Regions from separate parts of the Homo sapiens genome. Here all the other regions are linked to region 1. The links are contacts of gene promoters, found by promoter capture Hi-C in blood cells and fetal thymus (Javierre and others, 2016). All regions are on one chromosome and are shown on one strand. Each heading gives the region's core, a stretch centred on a gene start or on the middle of the fragment in contact. The rest is flanking DNA. Distances are from core to core; before and after follow the strand shown. Region 1 holds the start of FBXO8 (F-box protein 8). Region 2 overlaps ASB5 (ankyrin repeat and SOCS box containing 5). Region 3 has its middle 4.4 kb from the start of SPATA4. Region 4 overlaps WDR17 (WD repeat domain 17). Region 5 has its middle 53 kb from the start of WDR17. Region 6 overlaps GALNTL6 (polypeptide N-acetylgalactosaminyltransferase like 6). Region 7 overlaps GALNT7-DT (GALNT7 divergent transcript).

The links. The method cuts DNA at HindIII sites, captures the fragments that hold promoters and counts their contacts. A CHiCAGO score of 5 or more calls a contact.
Region 2: a contact is called between a fragment that was not itself captured here and the fragment with the promoter of FBXO8 in region 1, in 2 of 17 cell types (naive CD8 T cells and total CD4 T cells). The highest score is 10.6, in naive CD8 T cells.
Region 3: a fragment that was not itself captured here is called in contact with the fragment with the promoter of FBXO8 in region 1 in 10 of 17 cell types (total CD4 T cells, naive CD8 T cells, non-activated CD4 T cells and 7 more); the score reaches 24.4 in total CD4 T cells.
Region 4: a contact is called between a fragment that was not itself captured here and the fragment with the promoter of FBXO8 in region 1, in 2 of 17 cell types (total B cells and naive B cells). The highest score is 6.0, in total B cells.
Region 5: a contact is called between a fragment that was not itself captured here and the fragment with the promoter of FBXO8 in region 1, in 2 of 17 cell types (total B cells and naive B cells). The highest score is 8.1, in total B cells.
Region 6: a contact is called between a fragment that was not itself captured here and the fragment with the promoter of FBXO8 in region 1, in 9 of 17 cell types (activated CD4 T cells, naive B cells, fetal thymus and 6 more). The highest score is 10.2, in activated CD4 T cells.
Region 7: a contact is called between a fragment that was not itself captured here and the fragment with the promoter of FBXO8 in region 1, in 1 of 17 cell types (non-activated CD4 T cells). The highest score is 5.2, in non-activated CD4 T cells.

The regions. Positions count from the first base shown.
Region 1 is chr4:174,282,138-174,285,451 of GRCh38, reverse strand. It overlaps FBXO8 (F-box protein 8), which reads left to right and starts at 1,785. Exons shown (of 6, transcript NM_012180.3): 1 at 1,785-2,042. CEP44 (centrosomal protein 44) reads right to left here and starts at 1,541. Exons shown (of 12, transcript NM_001040157.3): 1 at 1,509-1,541. RefSeq lists a silencer at 1,309-1,576 and an enhancer at 1,341-1,590. The HindIII fragment of the contact is 4,999 bases long and covers 1-3,314 here.
Region 2 is chr4:176,214,083-176,217,396 of GRCh38, reverse strand. ASB5 (ankyrin repeat and SOCS box containing 5) reads left to right here. Exons shown (of 7, transcript NM_080874.4): 6 at 388-579; 7 at 1,670-3,314. The coding sequence ends at 1,797. Among named protein-coding and RNA genes, the nearest start is that of SPATA4, 20 kb to the right of the region's middle. The HindIII fragment of the contact is 3,458 bases long and covers 1-3,226 here.
Region 3 is chr4:176,198,290-176,201,603 of GRCh38, reverse strand. No RefSeq gene overlaps it. Among named protein-coding and RNA genes, the nearest start is that of SPATA4, 4.4 kb to the right of the region's middle. The HindIII fragment of the contact is 2,153 bases long and covers 729-2,881 here.
Region 4 is chr4:176,068,649-176,071,962 of GRCh38, reverse strand. All of the region lies in intron 1 of WDR17 (WD repeat domain 17), which reads right to left. Among named protein-coding and RNA genes, the nearest start is that of WDR17, 4.5 kb to the right of the region's middle. The HindIII fragment of the contact is 716 bases long and covers 1,113-1,828 here.
Region 5 is chr4:176,011,135-176,014,448 of GRCh38, reverse strand. It overlaps the pseudogene MARK2P4. Among named protein-coding and RNA genes, the nearest start is that of WDR17, 53 kb to the left of the region's middle. The HindIII fragment of the contact is 3,642 bases long and covers 1-3,314 here.
Region 6 is chr4:173,011,729-173,015,042 of GRCh38, reverse strand. The region is part of intron 11 of GALNTL6 (polypeptide N-acetylgalactosaminyltransferase like 6); the gene reads right to left. Among named protein-coding and RNA genes, the nearest start is that of GALNT7, 160 kb to the left of the region's middle. The HindIII fragment of the contact is 557 bases long and covers 1,183-1,739 here.
Region 7 is chr4:173,148,517-173,151,830 of GRCh38, reverse strand. The region is part of intron 6 of GALNT7-DT (GALNT7 divergent transcript); the gene reads left to right. Among named protein-coding and RNA genes, the nearest start is that of GALNT7, 19 kb to the left of the region's middle. The HindIII fragment of the contact is 1,362 bases long and covers 975-2,336 here.

The sequences.
Region 1 (3,314 bases), core at 536-3,035:
AGAGTAATACAAGCAGAGCTCGTGAACGAGGTAAGTGATAGGAGACAGAAAAATAAAGGGATTTAAAATTGGGATTATCACAGAATAAAATTACAGCTACTGCTCTACATTCTCACAAAGGGCTTTACTAAGTCTACTATAAAATTCAAAAGCCTTAAAAACAAGACATTAAAAGAAGCCAATCTATTACTTATGTACATTTTAACACCTTACTTTCATTAATGAAAAATACTTTTAAAAATTTAACATTTTCAACTTATAGCACTGATCAAAGGCAAACTAAGGAAAAAAGGAGATACCACTCAGCTTGCAGCATAGATTCAATAATAAAGAAGCTCTCAATATTCCTTTCTAGCTTCCTTCCTTGTCTACAAGTCAGATCTGCGCAATTGAACTTGTGGGAGAGGTTGTGAAAATAGTGTACTCTAGCAGTTTAGGATTTTCAACATCGCTCAATCTCATTGCTGTTAGAGGTCATTAAAACAATGCCTCCCAATAGAATGTCACTGGACCAGAGTGATTTTTGTTTAGAATGAAGCAACTACACTGACTCTAATAACAGTCAATGGCTAAGAGTTTGTGACATAGCACATAATGCTCGATATTATCTAAAAACACGTATCAAAAACAAAAAAGTAAAGATGAGAAAAACAGTTTATGAAACTGCAAAAGATATTAGGGAAATACTTCTCTAAGAGATAGGAGAAAGGTCTGAGAAAGGCAAAGCATCGAGAAAGCTGGGCGGGAGTGGGGAGGAGTAAGGGACAAGTAAAGAGTTCAACGGGACTGCTGTGTTCACACATAAAATTAAAAGGTCTGCAGATAATTCGGGAAAAAAACAGTCTAGCATGGCCATAATTCCAGAGTAAAAGAGAATAACAACTTCAAGATTAACTTGTTACAGTGAGGGAAAAATCTGTAGCCTTCAATAAAGGTGGAGAAATATTTGAAAAGCTGGGGAAATGCCAACAAGGAAAACACGAACTGCTGTCCTGTCTTCCTTATAGTCAGGAGCCGTTTGTATCCTCACCCCAGAGGATCCAATAGGAATCAGTAAGCCTATAACTTTCCAACCCTAAGTCACAACCTAATTCTGATAGGATGAGCTACCACGATACTTCCCACTTCGTTGTGACTAAAAGCATATACTAGTTGGGTATATAAGCAAGGCTCCCCTCCCGCCATTTGATTTAAAAGAATGAAAAGGCGGATCTGGTCATTCGTCTCCGCCCGGGGTCTCTGTAAGGACGGCGGAGAGAGGCGACCTCCGCCCAATACCAGGCGCAGCCTTGCCGTCTCCTCGGGGCTCACCAAGCAGCCACCAGCAAAGAAGCCGGTTTCAAAGGCCCAGCACGACAGGGAGAGGAAAACGGAGCATATGCAACCATACACAGTCACCAGAGTCCAGCCTCCCGCAACCAGTCGCTACAGCCAGGCGCCTGCGCCCAGAAGCGCTTCTCGCGCCGACCGTTTGTATTTGGAATTGTGGGTTCCTGCCCGCCACGCACCACCGCAAGACCTTCAAAGCTGGGAGCTTCTCTGTGCTCCAGGATTCCTCGCTGCCGATTCCACACCGCGTTCAAGACTCCTGTGAAGAGCGACTCCGCTGAGAGCCTCCTCAATGGCCAGTCCACTTCTAACTTGCAGCTGAGAAGTTTTTCTGATCTTGATGGTCAGAGTGGCTCGTGCTACGAAGTGAGAAACAAGGAATCTATAGCGAATCGTAAACAACAGAAATAAAAATGCGTCTCCGTTAAGAGTCGGAGCCTAACGTCACTTCCGGCAACAATAGGAAACGTCAAAATTGGGATAGTCGGCAGTTCTGGCCCCTGCAGCTGGAGGTACCCTGAGTTCTGAGGGTCGTAGTGCTGTTTCTGGTATTCTCATCGCGGTCACCTCTACCGGTGTGGACAAGTAAAGTTTGAATCAGCTTCTCCATGGCCTGGGCACCAGTTCCCGGCTGAGCCATTTTCCTTTTGGCTAAAAGTCCCCGCCCAGAGGCCAATTCGTCGCGGCGGCGGTGGAGATCGCAGGTCGCTCAGGTACAGGAGTCAACCTAGATATTTTAGATCTCTTGTCTCTTTTCCCTGTTCACCTTCACTTTTCTCGAAAATAAAGACAACCAGTGCTTGCCAGTTGGCCGAAACTGGCCGACCAGCAAGAGTTTGCGACCAATGACAGTGCGAAGCATCTTGAGTGACAGTAGTGGTGGCTCATTAAAGTGAGGAATCACTGTCAGGAGGCGGAACTGGGTGTGTTCCTTCTGTTTCTAGGCCATTGGGGTGTAGTTCGGTTTAGGACTCCAAGTAGTAACCCAGCGTCATTGTGAAATAAACCTGAGAAATGACAAGGGTTACTTTCTTCAGGTCCAAGTGTTGGTTTTCGGGTCGAGTGTTATTTTGGTTCCTAGACAGTTTTTGGTTCTTTACCACTTTCCAGTAATATGAATGCAAACACAAGTATAGTTAAGATCACGATGGATTGCTAGCTGCTACAGTAGTCAAACTTGGGTTATAAAACTTGTCAAACTTGTCTTTTATTTGTTTCTCAGCGACTGGGTTCTAATCTCTTACGTAGAAGGTTCTCAATATTTATTTGGCAAAATCACATAAATGGATCCCAATCCTCAGTCATTTAATTTTTTTAGTTTTATTTTTAGGTTCTGTATGAATTTACTAATAAAATAATTGATTCTACTTGTTTTACAAGTAAAATATTCATTTTCAAGGCTCCTAGGTGTATATCCACAAATGAATATATCATGATTTTTATTACGGTAAAGTGAAGACAATTTATGTTTTCTATTTCAGCTTTCCTCTTCCTTCTTTTAATGTTTGAAGTAATGTATTTCTGAGGTAGGAGCTCTACACACTTCTCAACTCTACCCTTCACGAAAATGATATGTGAAACAGAGTAGGTTTCAGAATAAAGAATGCATAAGTTTTATTATTTTTTTCATATTGGGTCAGAAATTCATCTTTAGCCAATTAACCTGACAATATGTCTGATGAGGTACTTCATTAGTTGTCTATTGCTGGGTAACAAATTACCCCCAAATTTACCCCAGCTTAAAACAACAAATATTATCAGTTTCTGTACATCAGGAATTAGGGTGCAGCGTAACTTCATTTAATAATAAGTTACAGCAAATTAACTAATATTACTTGGGGCCCTTGGATCAATTACTTCCATCCACAAAATATTATAGTAACTTCTAGATAAGCCAAAACATTGATCATAATTTATTACATATGGTCACTTTAATGGGGAATGTTTTGTGTGTTTACTGTTGCTAGGTTAAAAGATATCTTCCT
Region 2 (3,314 bases), core at 248-2,747, 1.9 Mb before region 1:
CCATGATGAAAATAAAAATGAGTGAACTTAATTGTGCACTCTTTATAATAGTAGTTAGTATGGTTACTTTTGGAATCATTTAAAAGTTAAAAAGAATTTTATTATGATAGTTCAAGCATACAGAAAAGTATCAGAGAGTCACATAACAAATGTATGTACCCTCTGCCATTCAGATGTGCCCAGTTTATATATATGTATATGTACATATGAGGCATATATGTGTATGTAGATACTGTATATGTATATAAAGAAATAACTCATAACAAATAGAGTTGAAGTCCCCTTAATAACCTTCCTCTATTGCCTTTCCTTTTCTATCCCCACTGAGGCAGCTGGCTTATTTAACAACTTTTATTTATATTTATCTTCACTCCGTATTACATGTAGGTGCTGACGTACAGAAAGGCAAATATTGGGATACTCCATTACATGCTGCTGCTCAACAATCCAGCACAGAAATTGTAAACTTACTGCTAGAATTTGGAGCAGATATCAATGCCAAAAATACAGAGCTTCTGCGACCTATAGATGTAGCTACGTCTAGCAGTATGGTGGAAAGGATATTGCTTCAACATGAAGGTAAGAAAAATACATGTGGAAACTTACAAAAACAAAATATATTTGCCTAAAATAGATGAAAGTGAGAGAGTTTTTGTTGGCATGGAAAGTAACAATGGCATAAAATGTGGAATATTATTTGTGAAAGTAGATGATTTTTAACTTAGGTTTTATCTATAAAGAAGATATCAGCCGAGTGTGGTGGCTCACACCTGTAATCCCAGCACTTTGGGAGGCCAAGGCGGGTGGATCACAAGGTCAAGAGATCAAGGCCATCCTGGCCAACATGGTGAAACCCTGTCTCTACTAAAAACACAAAAATTAGCTGGGCATGGTGGTGCGTGCCTGTAATCTCAGCTACTCAGGAGGCTGCGGAAGGAGAATCACTTGAACCCGGGAGGCGGAGGTTGCAGTGAGCCAGGATTACGCCACTGCACTCCAACCTGGCAACAGAGTGAGACTCCATCTAAAAAAAAGAAAAAAAATGATAATTTTAATTTTCTCTTTCATCTTACCTAAACTCTCATATATTTTTGGTTAAATATATTCAATTAGTTTCAGTAATGCATTATATGCACTTCTGGTATAATATCTGCTGATTTATATTTGGAGCATGCCCCATTTTATAAGGACATGAACCTTCTATAACATATTATAGAAATAAAATTAGTAAATATTTTTACATTTGAGACTTTTGTTCTAAAATAGGATTTCTTAATCCTAGTCCAGGGACTATAATATTTCTTTTAGGGTAAATATTAAACTTAATTTTAAAATTTCCCCTTTTAGTGCATAATACTTCTCAGGACTTTTGATTTATATCTCCTTCAAAAAGCAGACTTTGTTTCTGAGGCTTTAAATTCAACAATTATTTCCTAAGCCTGAGGATTATAATATTTTAAGGAATGTATATGGAATATATCTCAATTATAATAAGATCTTATAAATAAAAGCAATATAACTGCTTACATAAATTTCCCTAGTATAGTGGTCATGCTATCCTAGGTTTACTACAAAGCATTGTAGTTTTTATGGTTTTATGTTATGTACCTTACAACATAAAAAATTCATTTCTATTTTAATTAACAAATAGATTCATGTCTTCTTGTAGCTACCCCAAGCTCTCTTTACCAACTTTGCCGACTCTGTATCCGAAGCTACATAGGAAAACCAAGATTGCACCTTATCCCACAACTCCAGCTGCCAACGTTACTGAAGAATTTCTTACAGTATCGATAAAACAGTAAAGTAATTCTAAATACCTTGAAAATCAAAATTTCTATTTCTTTTGCTTAAGGAATAGTTCATATAAAAATATGCTAAAGATAGGATAAAAGTGAGTGTGAGATCACCCAGGGAAGCAGTAAAATATCAATTTTCATTTTAAGTGTATTAGTACTATTGTTTTATCATTTATGCTGTCTTTGGATTATAGCATATTTATAATATCTATTTTTTGTTATTTCAATATACCCTCCTGTTTATTCAGGAAAAAATAATAAAGTCACTATCTTATGTTTTCTTTTGGATTGGAAAGAAATAAAGCTCCTAGTAAAGTTATTCATATTATATTTAAAAAGGTCTATGTTCTTCAACTAATGGGTTAACTTTTTAATTTTGGCTATTGTAATTGGCTAACTTGTTACTGATATTGACATAAAATATGAATATGGCTTAGCAAAGAGCAACTAATATGTTTTCTGAAACCAGGATGATGCTCATTCAGGAAATCCACTATGTTGAATGTCCACTGGTCATTAGAATGAACACTTCATAAAGATAAATTGCCCCCCTCTCCCCCACTTACCCCTGGCAAAGGACTCACAAGTCACTTCTCTTCTCCATAGTACATGGACTTGTTACAGAAAAGTGATAGGATGAAAGGTCAATACTGCCCTCTCACCCTGAGATATTTAGAACATTACACACCTTCTAAGGCTATGTTAAGACTGCCTCCTTCTCAGGAGTAGCCCCTGATGATCTCTTATCAAGGCGGTTATATGCATATTACTCCAGCCTTCTTCCATTTCAGAAATTGTCAATAGCTAGTGATACTTGGACTTAAGAAAATGAACTATATATCTAATTAACAAACAGGCCCTGGATCATATTCCGGGGATCATCACATCAGTCCAAGGATATAAAAAAATGGAAGATTAAAAACTCAAATTGTGGAGTTTTTAAAGAGTGGGTGCCACTTAACACATTGGAGACCTTAAAAAATGTATATAGAGAACTTAATCGCACTGTTTCTAATTCTTTTTACACAAAACAAGGGCTTAGAGTATACTGTATTTGCAAGTAATAGCAAGAGAGTATTGTATAAAAGAAGATATTACTAAGCTAGTCCTCTGCAAGGGTAAATACTACGTTTATTCTCTTCAGCTTTAACTATACTTGAGTGCAATAAAAAACTTAATAAAATTTTATGCCTGTTTTGTAATTCAGGGCCTATTATGATTTTAGAAATAAGATAATCAACGTACAACTCTTTGTAAAACAAAAGCAACTTTGGGTGAGTTTTATAGATTTATTAAATTTTGATAAAGTAAATATTTTGACCACTATTTTCAACAACCCAGGGCTTATTTTCTTCTGACTTCTTGGCTAACTTCCAGACTATGGGAAAATAAATTATGATTGTATGTGACCCCCAGATCACTAAGCTTGCATTTTGGCAGAAAGAAAAAAAATCAGTTGTGATTTAAAACGTTTGTTGAGATTTTCAAACATAGAAATAAAGCTGTAGCATATTC
Region 3 (3,314 bases), core at 556-3,055, 1.9 Mb before region 1:
GAGACCCTGTCTCTAAAAAACAAAAATAAAAATGAAGTTTAATATCTGAGATATCAAGACATTTAAGTAAATGATTGAATCTTGTAGTCATTTTTTTTTTGAGACAGGGTCTCACTATGTTGCCCCAGCTGGAATTTAGTGGCACAATTATGGTTCACTGCAGTCTCAACTTCCCAGGCTATAGCGATCCTCCTTCCTTAGTCTCCCAAGTAGCGGAGACTACAGGTGTGCACCACCATGCCTGGTTAACTTTTTTTCAATTTTTTGTAGAGATGGAGGTCTCACTATGTTGCTTAGGTTAGCCTCAAACTCCTGGGTTCAAGTGGTCCTCCTGCCTCGGCCTCCCAACATGCTGGGATTAAAGGTGTGAGCCATCGCACTTGGCCTTGTAGTCGCTTTTTAAGAATTTGATACCAATATTGAGTATAAAATATTTAAATAGTAATTTAAGTAGATGTAGTCTTATTTAAGTTTATAGTTATGATTGCCTAAATATCGACCATATTTTCAATTCATATGTTTAGTGTACTGCATTCTTATTGCTACGCCTTTCAACTTAGAAAAACTGTTCAGAGTTGGTATGAGTGTTAAAATTATTTCCTCCATCAGGAGTGCCTTAGAATCTGGGCCAGAGCCTCTCAGTATAGCCACTTCTGAAAAACCACAGTCTGATGATAATTATGAAATACTATTTTGCTCTATGATGAGACTCCTCAAGAAGTTAAGCTTAAATACAGATGAAGACAGAAGCAGTTCAATGCTGCAACCAAAACGGGGAGTAAAGATCAGGAAATGGAAATGGATTTGTAATGCTTTTTGGTATACCCATCCATTTTGAGTTGTTTGCATTTCTGTGCATCTTGCAAGCAGATGCCCTGGCAGCTTTTGTTTCAGAACATCTTTTTAAAGATGTTCATATAGTGAACAGTGTTAAAAAATATAGTATCTTCCTTCAGAGGAGACTGCAGGTTTGTTTACTGACCAGTATCGTAAGAACAATGTTTCCCTCCAGGGCAAAGATTTGGCAGTTTTCCTTGCAGCCCATTATAAAAGACTGGGCTTCCCTAAGGTTGGGATTCCTCAGCTGTGATGTAAACCCATGGTGTGTGAGGCTTCCACCTCAGCCTCTTCACGTCATCCCGAGACACCTGTGGGCAAGAAGTACTAGCATGAACAGAGCTCACGCTGCTTCCTATGCTGTGAGCTGTAAAGTCTGTTTGGCTTATGCAGGTTAGAGGAATCCTAATGAATGAGTGTGGATTACTGTAGACTTAATTAACTCCAATTACAGCTGCTTTTCCATTGGAAGTGTCTTTTTTTTTATTTTTTATTTTTTATTTTTATTTTTTAGATGGAGTCTCACTCTATCACCCAGACTGGAGTGCAGTGGCATGATCTTGGCTCACTGCAACCTCCACCTTCCAGGTTCAAGCAATTCTCCTGCCTCAGCCTTCCGAGTAGCTGGGACCACAGGTGCATGCCACCACACTTGGATAATTTTTGTATTTTTAGTAGAGAAGGGGGTTTCACCATGTTGGCCAGGCTGGTCTCAAACTCCTGACCTCAAATGATCCACCCGCCTCGGCCTCCCAAAGGGCTAAATTATAGGTGTGAGCCACCTCACCTGGCCTGAAGTGTCTTTACTGGAATGAATTTCTACAGTCCCCAGCAAATGTTATTCTGCTGTTAATCTGGAATGTACTTTTTCCTCTCCATAACAGTCTGCGAAAACCACCAAAAGCAGTTTGCTTTTATCTATCAGGATCTATAGCACACATTCAAGCTATTGCCTTAGGTTCAGATCAATTTTCTTGCTCTTTGCCACAAGATTGGCAGAGATTTTTGAGTGTCTTAACATGTCATAGAACATCACACTAGTCCACTATATTGATGATATCCTGCTGAGTCGACCTCATGAACAGGAAGAAGCAAGTTCCTTAGATACTTTAGAAAGATGCAGGTGAGCTAGTGGTAGAGAAAAACCTCACTCCAGGTACCAAGCAATATGTCATTCAGCATCCAATCAGGAAAACAGAACTAATTCCAGGTATTCAACAGCAAGAATTTTAACAGCTGATCCTTGAACAACATTAAGATTAGGGGGACCGACGTCCTGCATGGTAGAAAACCCAACTGTAGACTCCCCAAAGACATAACTATTAATAGCCTACTGTTGGAAGTCTTACCAATAACATAAACATCAATTAACACATATTTTGTGTGATATATATTATGTACTGTATTCTTACAATAAAGTAAGCTAGAGAAAAGAAAATGTTATTAAGAAAATCATAAAGAAGCGAAAATATATTAACTATTCATTAAGTGGAAGTGGATCGTCAGAAAGGTCTTCATCCTTGTCTTCACACTGAGTAGGCTGAGGAGACGGAGGAAGAGGAGGGATTGGTCCTGCTGTCTTGGGGTTGGCAGAGGTGGAAGAAAATCCACATATTAGTGGGCCCGTGCAGTTCCAAATCCTGTGGTTCAAACCTGCATCGGCTTTATAAGGAACTGGTGGTGTTGAAGAACCGAAAAACTAAAATGGGACCATCAAATTAACACAGAGCTAGACACTTCAGGAAGCAATTACCACCCCCAGGGAAGAAGTTGAAGTTATAAGAACGTAAGAGTTGGAGGCTTAAGAGCCTCAAGACTTAGACTTGAGGATGGGGCGTACACAGCTGGTGCTAATACTTCAGGAGCTCACATGAGCTGTCCGAGAGTAAAATTGGGTCTCAGACTTCCAAGGAGGGCCACTTCTTGGTGGTTGCTAAAACCTCGGAGAGAATATGATGAAACTTGCACCAGGAGTGCTAAACAAACAAACCAACCAACCAACCATACTGGAGACTGGAACCAATTGCCCCGGCCAGGTGAAGCTTTGTTGCCATGGTTACACAGGGGCTTGAACAGCAAGCAGAGAAATAGCAAATCCCTGCTCCCCACCTCCTGGCCACTCTCTCACTCCCCATATTGGCAGAATTTACCATCCACCCAGCAAAGGAGAAAATGCCGCAGCGTTCCAACTCCGGCATCACAGAACTGAGAACAGAGAAGGGAGTGTTTCTAACAGGGATGTATTTGCTTAACAATTGGCACACTGATTACAGGAAGATTTCCAACTCTTTAGCAAAACTGTTTACAATTAAGCCCCAATCTAGCTGGGCGTGGTGGCTCATGCCTGTAATTGCTGCACTTTGGAAGGCCAAGGCTGGAGGATTGATTCCTCAAGCCCACAAGTTCAAGACCCGTCTTTATAAAAAATTTAAAAACTGACCAATCATTGTGGTTTGCACCTGTAGTCCCAGCTACTT
Region 4 (3,314 bases), core at 221-2,720, 1.8 Mb before region 1:
TCAACAAAACACAGGAGTTATATCTAAGACCAAACACTGAACATCAAAAGAGCAAGACACCGATTCAAAGATACAGAAAGATGAATGGAGTTACCTTTATTATCTATTTACATATATTTTTATACTTTCCTCCATTTTAGCCATGAAAATGAAAATTATATGGATTTGAATCCTGGAACTAGACTTACCCAGATGCTTAGAGGATTACAGAACGTTTTGTGCTGCAACATGGAAATAATTTTTGATTTGATCAAAGAAGTAATCCACATCTACTTCAACAAGCTCATTCATATACTTTCATTGTGACCATTCTGAGAGAGGTATCCAAAGAATAATAGAAAAGGGAAAGGCCGGGTGTGGTGGCTCACGCCTGTAATTCCAACACTTTGAGAGGCCAAGGTGGGCCGAGGTCAGGAGTTTGAGACCAGCCTGACCAACATGGTGAAACCCCGTCTCTACTAAAAATAAAAAAGTTAGCTGGGCATAATGGCCTGCGCCTGTAATCCCAGCTACTCAGGAGGCTGAGGCAGGAGAATTGCTTGAATCCGGGAGCTGGAGGTTGCAGTGAGCCTAGATCGTGTCACTGCACTCCAGCCTGGGCGACAGAGTGAGACTCTGTCTCAAAAAAAAAAGAGAAAAGAAAAAAGAAAAGGGAGAAATCACATATTTTCAATTATAAACTAAGAATTTTTGAAGTAAATATTCCATTGCGAGAACACTATGGAAGGAAATAAGTAAATATTTGTCATAAAAAGATACAAGATTATTTCTTCAACAGGGTGTGGCAAAAAGTATACCCCTATTTTTATAAATAGAATCACTGCTCATTAAAAAAAAAAAGACTTGAGGAACTCTGCCATAAATTGCTATGTAATCCCCAGGACCCTCGCTCCCCTTCTAATTAACCTGGTTTGTGAGTTGGGTTTTGTATGTGAGTTTTTGAAGCAGGATGAGCCTTCATGCTTATCTGTCTATCAAACTTAGGATTCCCCATTGGGCAGAAAGTCACTTAATGCTGGCATATTCATGTTCTGGGAAAAGGTGTTAAAAATTATTTTGGCAAGTCAGTTTGGGAAAACCAGCAAAGAAAATCAAATGGATGCTTAGAAGCTTGAATATTAAAAAACAAAAACAAAAACAAAAACAGGGCCAGTCACAGAGGCTCATGCATCCCAGGACTTTGGCAGGCCAAGTTGGGTGGATCGCTTGAGCCCAGGAGTTCCAGATCAGCCTGGGCAACATAGTGAGCTGTCTTCTCTACGAAAAGTAAAAAAAAAAAAAATTAGCCAAGAGTGGTGGTGCGTGCCTGTAGTCCCAGCTGCTCAGAAGGCTGCTGTGGGGGGATTGATTGAGCCTGGGAGTTCAAGGCTGCAGTGAGCCATGATCACACCACTGCACTCCAGCAGGAGACCCTGTCTCAGAAGAAAAAAAGAAAAGAAAAAAGAAGTGGAAAAAAAGGGAAAAAAGGATCTACATAAACTAACTAAACTCGAAACTTTCTTCAATATATGCATTCAATATATTGACAGAGGCCTGAAATAAGTCTGATTTTAATTTGCTAAGTAAAGGGCTGTATTACCTAAGGTAGGGCCCAGGCACAGATCTGATAGGTTGGTAATCTACATATTAGTCTGCCTAAGTCAAATATTACGCTCTGAGCCAACATAAAATTCCCCCTAAACATGAGCTAATGAATTAATTTTGAAGGTGAGACATTATGCCCAAAAAGCTACTATTGATATATAAATGTTAACGAAACGTATCCACTATTATATTTTCAGGAATAAATTCATTTATTTAGTAGTTCATGGTACTCCCAAGTAAAGCTTCAGAAGTAGAACATAAGCCAGCTTTTCCCTTATTAATTTTGAGAACATAATTTTTATGTGTTTAGTGTCCTCATTAACAGAATAACGGTGTTAGAGTAACTGGTCTTAAGGATCCTTCTATCATAAATTCCAAAATGACCCCTTCAAACCTGTTTACCTTAAAAATAAAATGTTGCATAACTCTTTTCATTAAAAGTCATCCATAATGTTTTATCTTAAAGAATCAAACTTAATTAAATGTTAGCTATTTCTTATTAACCAACTATTCATTTTTTTGAGACTCCATGTGGAGCTGTTTGTATTGTAATGAAGGGTTTTTTTAATAGCATGTTAAACACGAGTGCTTTGTGTAATAAAAATTATTTTCTACTTTCCGATTTGAAAGTAAGTTTTCTGTGTGCGTGATATGAAATTGAACTTACTACACATCATTGTAAATGAGTCTGCCTGGGACACTGGTACATGCTTACAACTAAAAAAAATGGGAAGAATCTGGAAGAAGAAAACAATAAACCTAAGCATAAGAAAAATTGTTTAAGGACCTCAATCTTGAGTTCTCCATCTCAGAACATTTGAATGTACAAAACAAGTATTGACTGTTATAACATCTTCACTGACACATGGAAATTTATTTCTTACACTTTTGCTACAATTTATCCGAACATGACAATTATCAATCATCCTTATCATAGCAAATAACATTGTTAAATTACCTCCTGTATTATCTTAATTATAGATTTATATTACTGTCTATTTCTACAGTACATTTTTTAAATTAGAATGTAGAATTACAGAATTTTATAAGACAGCTTACTGAACAATACTTTGTAAGTACATTTAACATAATAAAAAGTAAGACTTTTATCAATATATATATATAAATTATTTTCCTCAAGTAGCTGATAATGTGACATCTGGAAGGCAGGTGCCAGCTGTGGCTCCAATATCAAGTTCTTTTTTTTTCTTACAAAATCTAGCCTATTTGAAATGTTTGACTAGTCACTGAAATTATACCTGTCTAGTCACTGAAATCAGATGAAAACAACCTGAACTCTGCCTTCTAATGTGACAGCCCATGCTTTAAGCATGGAAACTTTTCAAATCTTTCTAATTAATCGTGATGGGAATTTTTCTTTTACTATACAAAGCTGATCATTTTATATTATTTCTACCAATTTTTATTACCAAAGTTGCAAGTCCTTCGTGAACATTTTAAGTAAACTCAAATAAGAAAAATGTTTTTCTCTAGGTTTTGTTTCCTTATAGAGTAGATTCTTTGGGAGAATTTCTAAAATTCTCTTCAGGTATCCGTATCTAATTTCTTGCTCACAAATTTCAAGGAATAGTTTTATCAACAATGAAAGAATAATCACGATACTATTTTAACAGGATAAAGCACAGTCTTGGGTATCAAAAAGTACCAACCAAATCTTAAGTTTCATATGTTTCTGATACAAAAGAAAAGGAGCATGAATTAATAAAAAA
Region 5 (3,314 bases), core at 467-2,966, 1.7 Mb before region 1:
ATGGCAACGACTGGCTCCTTAGTCGACTGGCTCCATCAGTGGGGGTAACTTCACCAAGGTGAAATTGGTGTGGCACATTTTCACTGGGAAAGAGGTGGCTGCAAAGACCATCAGTAAGACTCAGCAGAACTCCCCCAGCCTCCTGTGACTGTTCCAGAAAAACCAAATCAAGAAGGCCTTGAATCAACCCACCATAGTGAAATTATCTGAAGTGATTGACATTAAGAAAATCCTCTACAGTATTGTGGAGTATGTTGGTGGAGGAGGGGGTGTTCCATTACCTGGTGGCTGATGGCAGCATGAAAGAGAAAAAAGCACAAGGCGAATTTTGCCATGAAGTGCCTATTGTGCAGTGTTACCACCAGAGGTGTATGGTCCTTAGAGACCTGTGGGCAGAACATCTGCACAGCTGACATTGTAGGCTAGCTTCACAACAAATTCACCTTTGGCAACAAGCTAGCTGCCCTCTGTGGCAGCCCTCTTTATATTGCCCCACAGCTCTTCCAGGGCCCAAAGTACAACAGCTGCTAGTGAATGAGTAAAGACTGGCAGTTATCCTCTATCGGCTGCTCAGTGTGCCCCTGCTGCCTTGTGATAGACAGAACTTCAAGGAGTTGCCAGAGTAGATATTGAGAAGAATATCTGGTATTTCTTGCTATATGCCCATGGAGTGTGAAAACCTGCTCAAGAAATTTCTTGTCCTCAACTCTCGCAGGAGAGGCACTTTAGAGGAAATCATGAAGCATCCGTGGATGAACATGGACCACGAGGAGGAACTGAAATCTAAACTCTTACATTGACCACTTCCTGCTTTTAAGAATCCCTGACAGACTGAGATAATGCCCATGGCTTATACGTGCGAAGAGATTCAGAGCTTGTTAATGGGTCAGAATTATGCCAAAGCAATGACCATCCATCTGCTCCTGGGCTACGAGAGATCTGAGATGGAGCACTACCCCATTATCCTCAAGCCTCGGCTTCAGCTCATCCCACCAACAGCTGTACTCCTTCCTCACTTGCAAGGTATAGCATGAGATCTCTGCCACCTCAAAGCGGCAGAGTTTCAATGAGCCTGCCATTCCCACCTTTAATTCTCACTCTAAGAATAGCAAAGACATGGAAGCAGCCTAGATGCTCATCAGTGGTGAATAGGTTAAATAAAATGTGCTACATATACACTAGAATACTATGCAGCCGCAAAAAATGAAATCATGTCCTTTACAGCAACATGGATACAGCTGGAGGCCATTATACTAGGCAAATTAATGCAGGAACAGAAGACCAAGTATCACATGTTGTCACTTGTAAGTGAGAGCTAAGCATTGGGTACACATGGACATAAAGATGGGTATAGTAGACAGGTACTAGACGGGAAAGGGCTGAAAAAAAATATATATATTATATATTTATATGTATAATGTTTATATATATAGTAGACATATATTAGAGGCAAAAGGGCTGAAAGCCATCTATTGGGTACTGTGCTCACTACCTGGACAACAGGATCATTCATAGCCCAGACCTCAGCATCACACAATATACCGGTGTAACACGCCTGCACATGTACTCCTGAATCTAAAATAAAAGTTGAATTTATTTAAAAAGTCCCCTTATGACCCCTTCTGTGGGGCACTGAACCACTTGTGATCTGCTGCTACCCAATCCATGAATCACTGAATATTCACATGAACTCATTAAATTTTTTCAAAAATGTAGTCAGAGTGCCACAAGAATTCAGTGGTCCGGGCAGAACCAGGAGTCAGAGTGGAAGGCCAGTGGCTCTGTGAAAGTGCCTGCTGGTCACCTAATCTGCCTAGAGGTGAAGACCACCTCCTTACAGCATAGCCCTCCAGTATGGCCCTGTGGCCTCCCTCTCTACCCACAATGCTGGCAGCATTGGTGGAGCCCAAGTTGAAACTGATTTCCTCCAGGGTCTCTCCTCCAGATGAAAATCCCTTCACTCTGGGCAGTTCGGAAAGGTGCACAACCAGCAAAATATGCTTGAGGATGAGACCCCCAGCCTCTTCTGATAACAGCCAGACCCTGCAGTGGGGCACTGGGAGGTTCCTCACCATTGATCTGCAGATATGTATGTTTCCAGTTGGCCAGAAACATAACAGCATAAAGCTGAAAGCAGTGCATATCAGACATAAAAAGATGGGCAGCAGAGGCAGGAGAGGCAGTGATAAAATCAAGAAAGAATGTCAGGAGTTCAAGCTGTGCTCCCTGGTTTTACCTGGAGAATGAAGACCATGAGCTCCGTGTAGCCCACCGAGATGCCAGAGATCAGCCAGGTGCCTGGTCAAGAGAGCTTTGTGCAGTGAAGAATGGAGGTGTCCAAACTCTTTCTGTGGGGTTCAAATTAAGATGATATTCAGCACCTTTGAGGCCTTCAAAAGCATTATCTCCAGAATAACTGGTAAGCCTGGGGAACTGCCAGTATTCATCAGAGAGACAAGAGGAGAGACCTCTGGCCCTAGTCATAGGCCTGGCACTCTGCCCCACCTGGTGAAACTTTAGAGACTGGACTGCTTCGAGAACATGGTTCTGTAAATATAAAACACACACACACCCACACACACACACACACACACACACACACAATTTAAAACAACATATGCTAATTATTGCATTTAAATGTTAAGGAAAACCACTCTGCTTTATTGCTATAGCTGTCACAAGACACTTACCTACAGCTTTGCAACGGGGAGGCTCAAAACCCTTCAAAATTCTCTTGTGACTCAACTGCAAACCACAAAAGAAAATCACTTTCCTCAAGGGAAACCAAAGCCCAGTGAGGCCATCCTAGGAATAGAACAAAAATTAATGAATTGTAAAGGAGACTGCATTTGGAAGCTGTTGTGTTGGTGTTTCTGGCTGGGAAAATAAGGCCTGAGGGTACTATCTGTACAATATATATTTTGTGAAACAACCACTTCAGTCTTTGTAAAACTGAAACAAATGAGCAAAAACGAATCCAAACCAAAACAAAAAGCAAACACAAAAAAGATCTGAGTCTTGTAGATGGAACCTCCACTCCCTGGAAAATCAGCCTGATCTCCCCATCTTTTTTATCATTGGTTACCCTGCTCAAGGATCCATGGTTTCCTCTTGGTCCTTACTCGTATATAAATTATGAAAATTTATGCTTCATATTTATGGTATACATCGACTGTTTTCATTTATTCCCTTCAGCAATTTTCATAGTTGCAGCTAACATTTTTATAACTGTTTAAAATTTTCAGCCTTTCTAATGCATTATCTTATTTAAATTGGACTTTGACATTTTTTTCTTTCTTTGCAATCCATATAAT
Region 6 (3,314 bases), core at 212-2,711, 1.3 Mb after region 1:
TTATAGAACCATCAGATCTTATGAGAACTCAGTCACTATCAGGAAAACAGCATGAAGGTAACTGCCCTCATGATTAAATTACCTCCCACTGGGTCCCTCCCATGACACATGGGGATTATGCGAACTACAATTCAAGATGAGATTTGGGGACACAGCCAAACCATATCACAATGTTAACTCTTATTTCTTTGCTTTAATATTAATGTGATATGTGTCATGTTGCCTGGGTCCGTTTGTATTATATGAATAAGGTCACTGGATTTGGTACTGCCAATACACTTATCTCTTGCTCTTGCTACCTGACTTGAGACAGCAGAAAATATTTTTCTCTGTCTGGATTGTGATGTTTTATTTCATTGTTATGAGGTTTGCAGAAACCTGAGATACAGCATGTTTCTCCTTGCAGTTTGCACCCATCAGTTCGCTCTGTCTTGATAATGAGACTCTTTTTTCCCAAAGAGAGAAAAAAGAAAGGAAAAAAATCTGTCCCCTGGATGCACACATTTGCTTGCTTCTGTCTTTGTGAACCTTCCCCTAGGCCCTGGAGAGGGAGCCAGTGTTTGCTTCCTCGGGAGGACGAAAGCTGGGCTGCAACACTTGCTCCCCAGCATGACATCAGAGCCTGCTGCTGGGCCTGCAGAGTGGGAACAGCCAAACTAGACCAAGGGGGTTCCTCCCCGCCACTCCTCTCCCTTGGACTCAATGGGAGCTGGGGAATGTTCTTTCCAGACCTTATAGTCTTATTAGGATCTATTTTTGTTTTTCTTTCTTGATCCCTAAAGGAAGCATAATGCTACCATGATATCAAACAGCTATGCAGATTGCCCTGGCAAAATGAATCATACATTTGCTTCCTTCACAGAAACCACGTTAGTCACCACCAGTGTTCTGCAGCAGAAGGCATTTTCTTATACAGGTCCTTCAATGGACTCTTTTTTATTTCCCATGTAACAATTTTGTTTTTTCCTTTTTTTAATTTTTGCCACTTTTTTTTTTGGAAAAAAACGGATTATTTCAACTCTAATAAGTCTCCTTTTGTGTTTTTTGAATGTTTTTGAATTAAAAAGAAAATCCATAATTGTCATGTTCCGATATGCCTTCCTCATGCAGGAATTTTAATCTAAATGTAGAAGAGTGCTTCCTAATTCTTGTAAGTCACTGAGTGATATATTGAATAAAGCTTACAGTTAATTACTGGTGAATGAAACAGCTTGTAATGTTTTAACCTCCAAGTCAATATATGGCAATATTTCAAACATGATGCATTTTCCACCACTTATCAACCTTATTTAATCCTACTGTAGCTTCATTTTTAGGATCTCTAGAGACAGGAAATCTTTTTAAAGAGCTGTATTAACTGGTCTTTCTGTTCTGCCTATGTAGTTTTCTGCTTGTCTAGTGCTGCCCTCTGGTGACCATTTCTTGAATTACGGGCCATAGATTTTTGCATTTTAGCCTGGGGGTGGGAGGTGGGGAGTTGGGGGACGTGGGGGGTGCGGGGAGTGAACCAGCAATTTTTAAAGTGTATGCAATATCGTTGCCTTTGTTTATATCCATGTTCCGCTGTCAAATAAAATCTGCAGGCCAGAGAAGATTTCATTCTAGAGCATTACTGGATAGAAATACTAAGCCCAGTTCAGACATTAAGGCCTGCTTTATATTCACCAGCTGGCCATGTGTGTTTCTTAGTTGGGTTGAATAGAGATGGTAGAGAGGAATTTAGCCCAAGAAATGAAGCTTTTCCTTATGGTTTCCTCCTTTTTCTTTTTAAAAAAGTTCTTTTCCACTCTAGATGCCAGCCTTACCGATAGCTTCTAAAGCCTTCTCTCTTGCTCCCAGGCTGAAGTCAGAATTGCTTGTTGGAGTTAACAGTCCAACACCATTCCTCAGGTCCCCAGTAACATCCCCATGGAGCTTATAGAAACAGACAGAGGAAGGAGGAGGCAAATAACTTTTCACTGATATTTGATTCCTATCAATAAATCTGGGAGTCACAGAGCCTTCTATAAACCCCTCTGGATATATGTATATAATCAGCCACCACGCCTGGCTGATTTTTGTATTTTTAGTAGAGACGGGGTTTCAAAATGTTAGCCAGGCTGGTCTCGAACTCCTGACCTCAAGTGAGCCACCCGCCTCAGCCTCCCAAAGTGCTGGGATTATAGGCGCGAGTCACCGTGCCCAGCCATGCAGGGCGCATTTGAGTGAATAATAACTAGTATTTGCTGACTATGCTGGGAACAGATAAATGAAGCCAAAGTCCCAGCTGCCTTGGACCTGAGAGAGGTTTCTAATTTGGTATTAGCATAAAGGGATTTGTGAGTGTTTGAGAGAAGGAAGGCAGGAGGGAGAGGATATTACTCTGCACCTGCTGCATGTGCAAGATGCTGCCCCAAGATTTATTCTCCTAACCACCCTGTCCAAGATGGAAGAACTATGGCCTAGAAAGATTTCACAACTTCACAAGGCCACATGGTTTAAACTAAAATCCAGGTTGGCCTGGCTACAAGGCCCACAGTCCTCCTAGAATACCATGAGGCTGTGGGGAGAGGGTTCAAAGATTGGATCAGTGGTTAGGGGAGAGGCACTGTTGATGGACTGAACATCTCTGGATTGTATTGTGGACTTGTTCTGTGGCTGTTTTCCTCGCATCATGATGCTCTGCATTGTAATGCGTGGTAGAGGGCAGGGAGGGGCAGTGAGGTGGGGCGAGGGAGGTGAATCTCAACACATCTGGACAACTCTTTAACATCCTGCGCTGGGCATGGTGGACCTTTTCTAGTTTAATGTACAAGATGGGCACCAGAGGAATCTGGCTATAGGAGGCAGTAACGCCTTACTGGGAACTGCTTGCTTGCTTTTTTGCTTTTCATAAGAGATGAGTGTGATGAGTACATAAATATCTGCTATGATATTTTCTATAGCTTTCTATTGAAATATTTCTTAATTTAAAATTAAAACAGTGAAAAGGGTTAGGTGAGCTTGGTGGTATGCACCTGTGGTCTGAGCTACTCAGGCTGCTGAGGCAAGAGGATCGCTTGAGCCCAGGAGTTTGAGGCTGCAGTGAGCTTTGATCACATCACTGCACTCCAGCCTGGGTGACAGAGCAAGACCCCATCTCTAAAATACAAGAAACGAAAACGCTAAAAGAGAGCAAAGGCAATTTTGCCCACTATCTTTTCCCTTTCACAGGTGACACAGTATCAGGGAAGCTGCTTGCAAGGACTTTCAAATTTCTAAGAGGGTTAGAAATCACATCTCACTTAAACTGAGTTGCAATGAAATGTTTTTCAATTAAAAGCAATTAAGTCTTA
Region 7 (3,314 bases), core at 406-2,905, 1.1 Mb after region 1:
AATTATATGATGAATGCTATGATAAGAGATATTTATGATTCAGCACTGGATGCTGGAGGCACCTAGTGATATCTAATCTACTCTAGTGGATCCAGAAAGGCTTCCTGGAACAAGAGCCATTCAAGAGGACACTGGCAGATGCACAGATATTACCCAAGCAAGGGGATAGAGTGGAAAGGAGAATGTGCAGAATGCCTGAGATGAGTTACAGTGATAGGAAGAAATCCGGATGGCTGGAGTGAGTATTCCAGGGTAGGCAGTAGCTAAACCCAGGGTTTTCGAGGCAATCCTAAAGACAGTGGGCAGGGGAGAAAAACAGACTATCAGGTGACTATGTGTGGAGAGCTACAGAGAGCACCAGGATTAGCTTAACACACCAGAATATACAGAGTTCAGTTTAGAGTCCCTTGCCTCATCCTATCTGATACTGTTAAGAATGCACATATATCTGTTTTCCTAAAAGTAGACTGGGGAAAGAGAAGCCAGTGCTCTCTTACTGGATGCTATTCTTCGATTTATTTAATGTATGTTTACTGAATATCTGGTATATTCAAGGGCATGTACCACATTGTGCTAAGCACTGTTGAACATTCAACGTACAAGTTAATATTTATTGAGTGCTTGCCTGTTACACACTTAGAGTTGTGGTGATTATAAATGAAGTTGTGGGCCTCGTTTACAGTAATCTCGCTGAAAGTAGGACACAACAAAATAAGCAACTAGGCCTGTCTACAAACAGGTATTATGCACACTGCTTAATGTTTTAATAAACAACCAAGTTGATCTCAGGGTTATATCCAACAATAAGAGAATTTTTGGTTTTTAATGTTATTTTTTAAAGACTTAGAACTAATTTCGGTTTTATAGTACAGGTACCAAATTAATTTTTGCTCAAAAATATAAGTGCATATTATGTGCTAGGCGTTGTACCAGTGATACAAATTGAGGACATTGTTCCTTGCCTCTGAGAAGCTTGCAAACAAGTGGGAACTATAACAATAAATATATTACGGTGGGATGTGCTATAAAAATGTTAGAAGATGTTAAAGTAATGTGGGCAACTTTGTAAACCTGTTTAATTTATTCCATTCCATCATACTGCAAAAATGAGAATAATGCATTTCCTGCTTTTTTTTTTTTTTTTTTTTTTTTTTTTTTTGAGACAGAGTTCCGCTCTTGTTGCCCAGGCTGGAGTGCTATGGTGCGATGTTGGCTCACTGCAACCTCTGCCTCCTGGGTTCAAGCGATTCTCCTGCCTCAGCCTCCTGAGTCGCTGGGATTACAGGCGCCCACCACCATGCCCAGCTAATTTTTGTTATTTTTAGTAGAGACGGGGTTTCGCCATGTTGGCTAGCCTGGACTCGAACTCCTGACCTCAGGTGATCCACCTGCCTTGGCCTCCCAAAGTGCTGGGATTACAGGTGTGAGCCACTGCACCCAGCCCATTTCCTGCATTTTTATTGACACAATTTTAAATAAAATGCTTGAAATCCAACACATTTCTGTTTTCTTCTGAAATGTTCTAAATAGAACATTTATTTGTCTAATAAAGTTATAAGAGTCATGAACCATTTCTTGTTTGGAGAATTAGTCTTTTGGTAATCAGAAAAGGAACAGGTAGCAAATTGCATTCCAAAAATGAAACTTTTAATCAGAAGGAGACATTTTCAGTGTGATTAGGCAGTTTTCTGTCAGCACAGGTTAAAGAAAATCAACCAATAGACTAGATCCCAGAAAACTTTCTAAGAATGTCCATTGCTTTTTTCAAAAAACAGACTTCATTCATAGTATTAAAAGCATTTGTATAGCTTGCTTCTTAAATGCTATACACAATTTTTCATATATCAACATGGAAAGGTTTCCGCTTTTATTCAAAATATGCAAATGAGTCATAACTGTTACCATTCACATAAGATTTTATTGATAAATGTATTCAGTAAGTATTGAGTGACTAGTTGTATCAGACTGTGAGGATACAGAATCCTGCCCTTAGAGCACTTAGAGCTTGGAGAATCTGATGGCATAATGAATAGTTACAGAAGGTGTTTCTTTTTCTTAACCATTCTTCTCACTAATACTTTTAACAAAAAATTGAAGGTCATACTTTATTAGTATTTTCAAATACTCTCTTTGATTAGAATTGCCTAAAAACACTGCTTTTCTAGGTATCTTTAATTTGATGCTACAATGGCTCACATTATGAACTTATCAAGGAAGATTACTGCCATGATTCACTGTGGTGAATTTTTCTGTTTAAAAAAAAAAAGATGGAAGGAAGGAAAGGAAGGAAGGAAGGAAGGGAGGAAGGAAGGATTAACATAGCTACCTCTGAAGCTTTTTATGGTACATGTATAATAAAAGAAGGAAAATTTGGGAAGCAGCAATTTGGGAGCACAGAGATAAGGCAAAGTGAAATATAGGTAGAATTGTACAACAAATCAGAATTATTTTTAACCAAGTTTGGGAAAACAGAAGGTTAATAGTTAATGCAATCTAAATAAAATCCTATGACATAACCTAATGATTGAGAAGATCCTAAATTAGATACGTTATCAAGAGGAAATAGTGTATTTAAATTCCTTAATTGAGCCAGAAATAAAATTTCAGCCACCAATTGCCCATATAAAGCCTACCAAGTGACTAGAATTATGTCTCTTGCCTAGAAATAGGTCAATTAGATAAATGATTGCAAAGAAATAAGTGATGTCTGATTTCATAAGTCATTTAATGCTTAATAACCAAAGTAAATCAATCAAGGGTTAGGGAAAATAGCAGTTCTAATCTGTTGGTTTTGAGGCTTGAGACTTATTTTGCTTCTTTAATTTTTAAATCTCAGCATTAGAAATCAGAATTTTTCATTACATTTCTCTTTTCTTCAAATAGTCTCAAGTGACTGTTGAATTCATAGAATTACATATGTAAATTTTAAAGTGAAGATTTACTTGATAGGTTTTAAAAATGTCAATTGCACAGAGAAGGTGCTATGAATAAGAATTCACACCTGCCTAGGGCAAGTAGACAATTAAAAAAAAACTCTACATCATTTTAAATATACATTCTCATACTTTTGGATCAGAACATCAAAAGAGGAACTTTGCCATTTAGAGTTGCCATAAACTTGCATTTATTGAACACTCAGAATGTGAGCACAAGTGATTTTAATAATAGCACAACCTCTCTCAATAACTCACAGAAGCTCCAAACGAGTCCTTTCCCTTCATTCTGAGCCTATTGTCTACCACCAAGCTCAGAGCTTATTAGGTAGCTTTAAGATTCAGTGAAGTCTCTTATTTCTATAAATTTGAAGGATAACT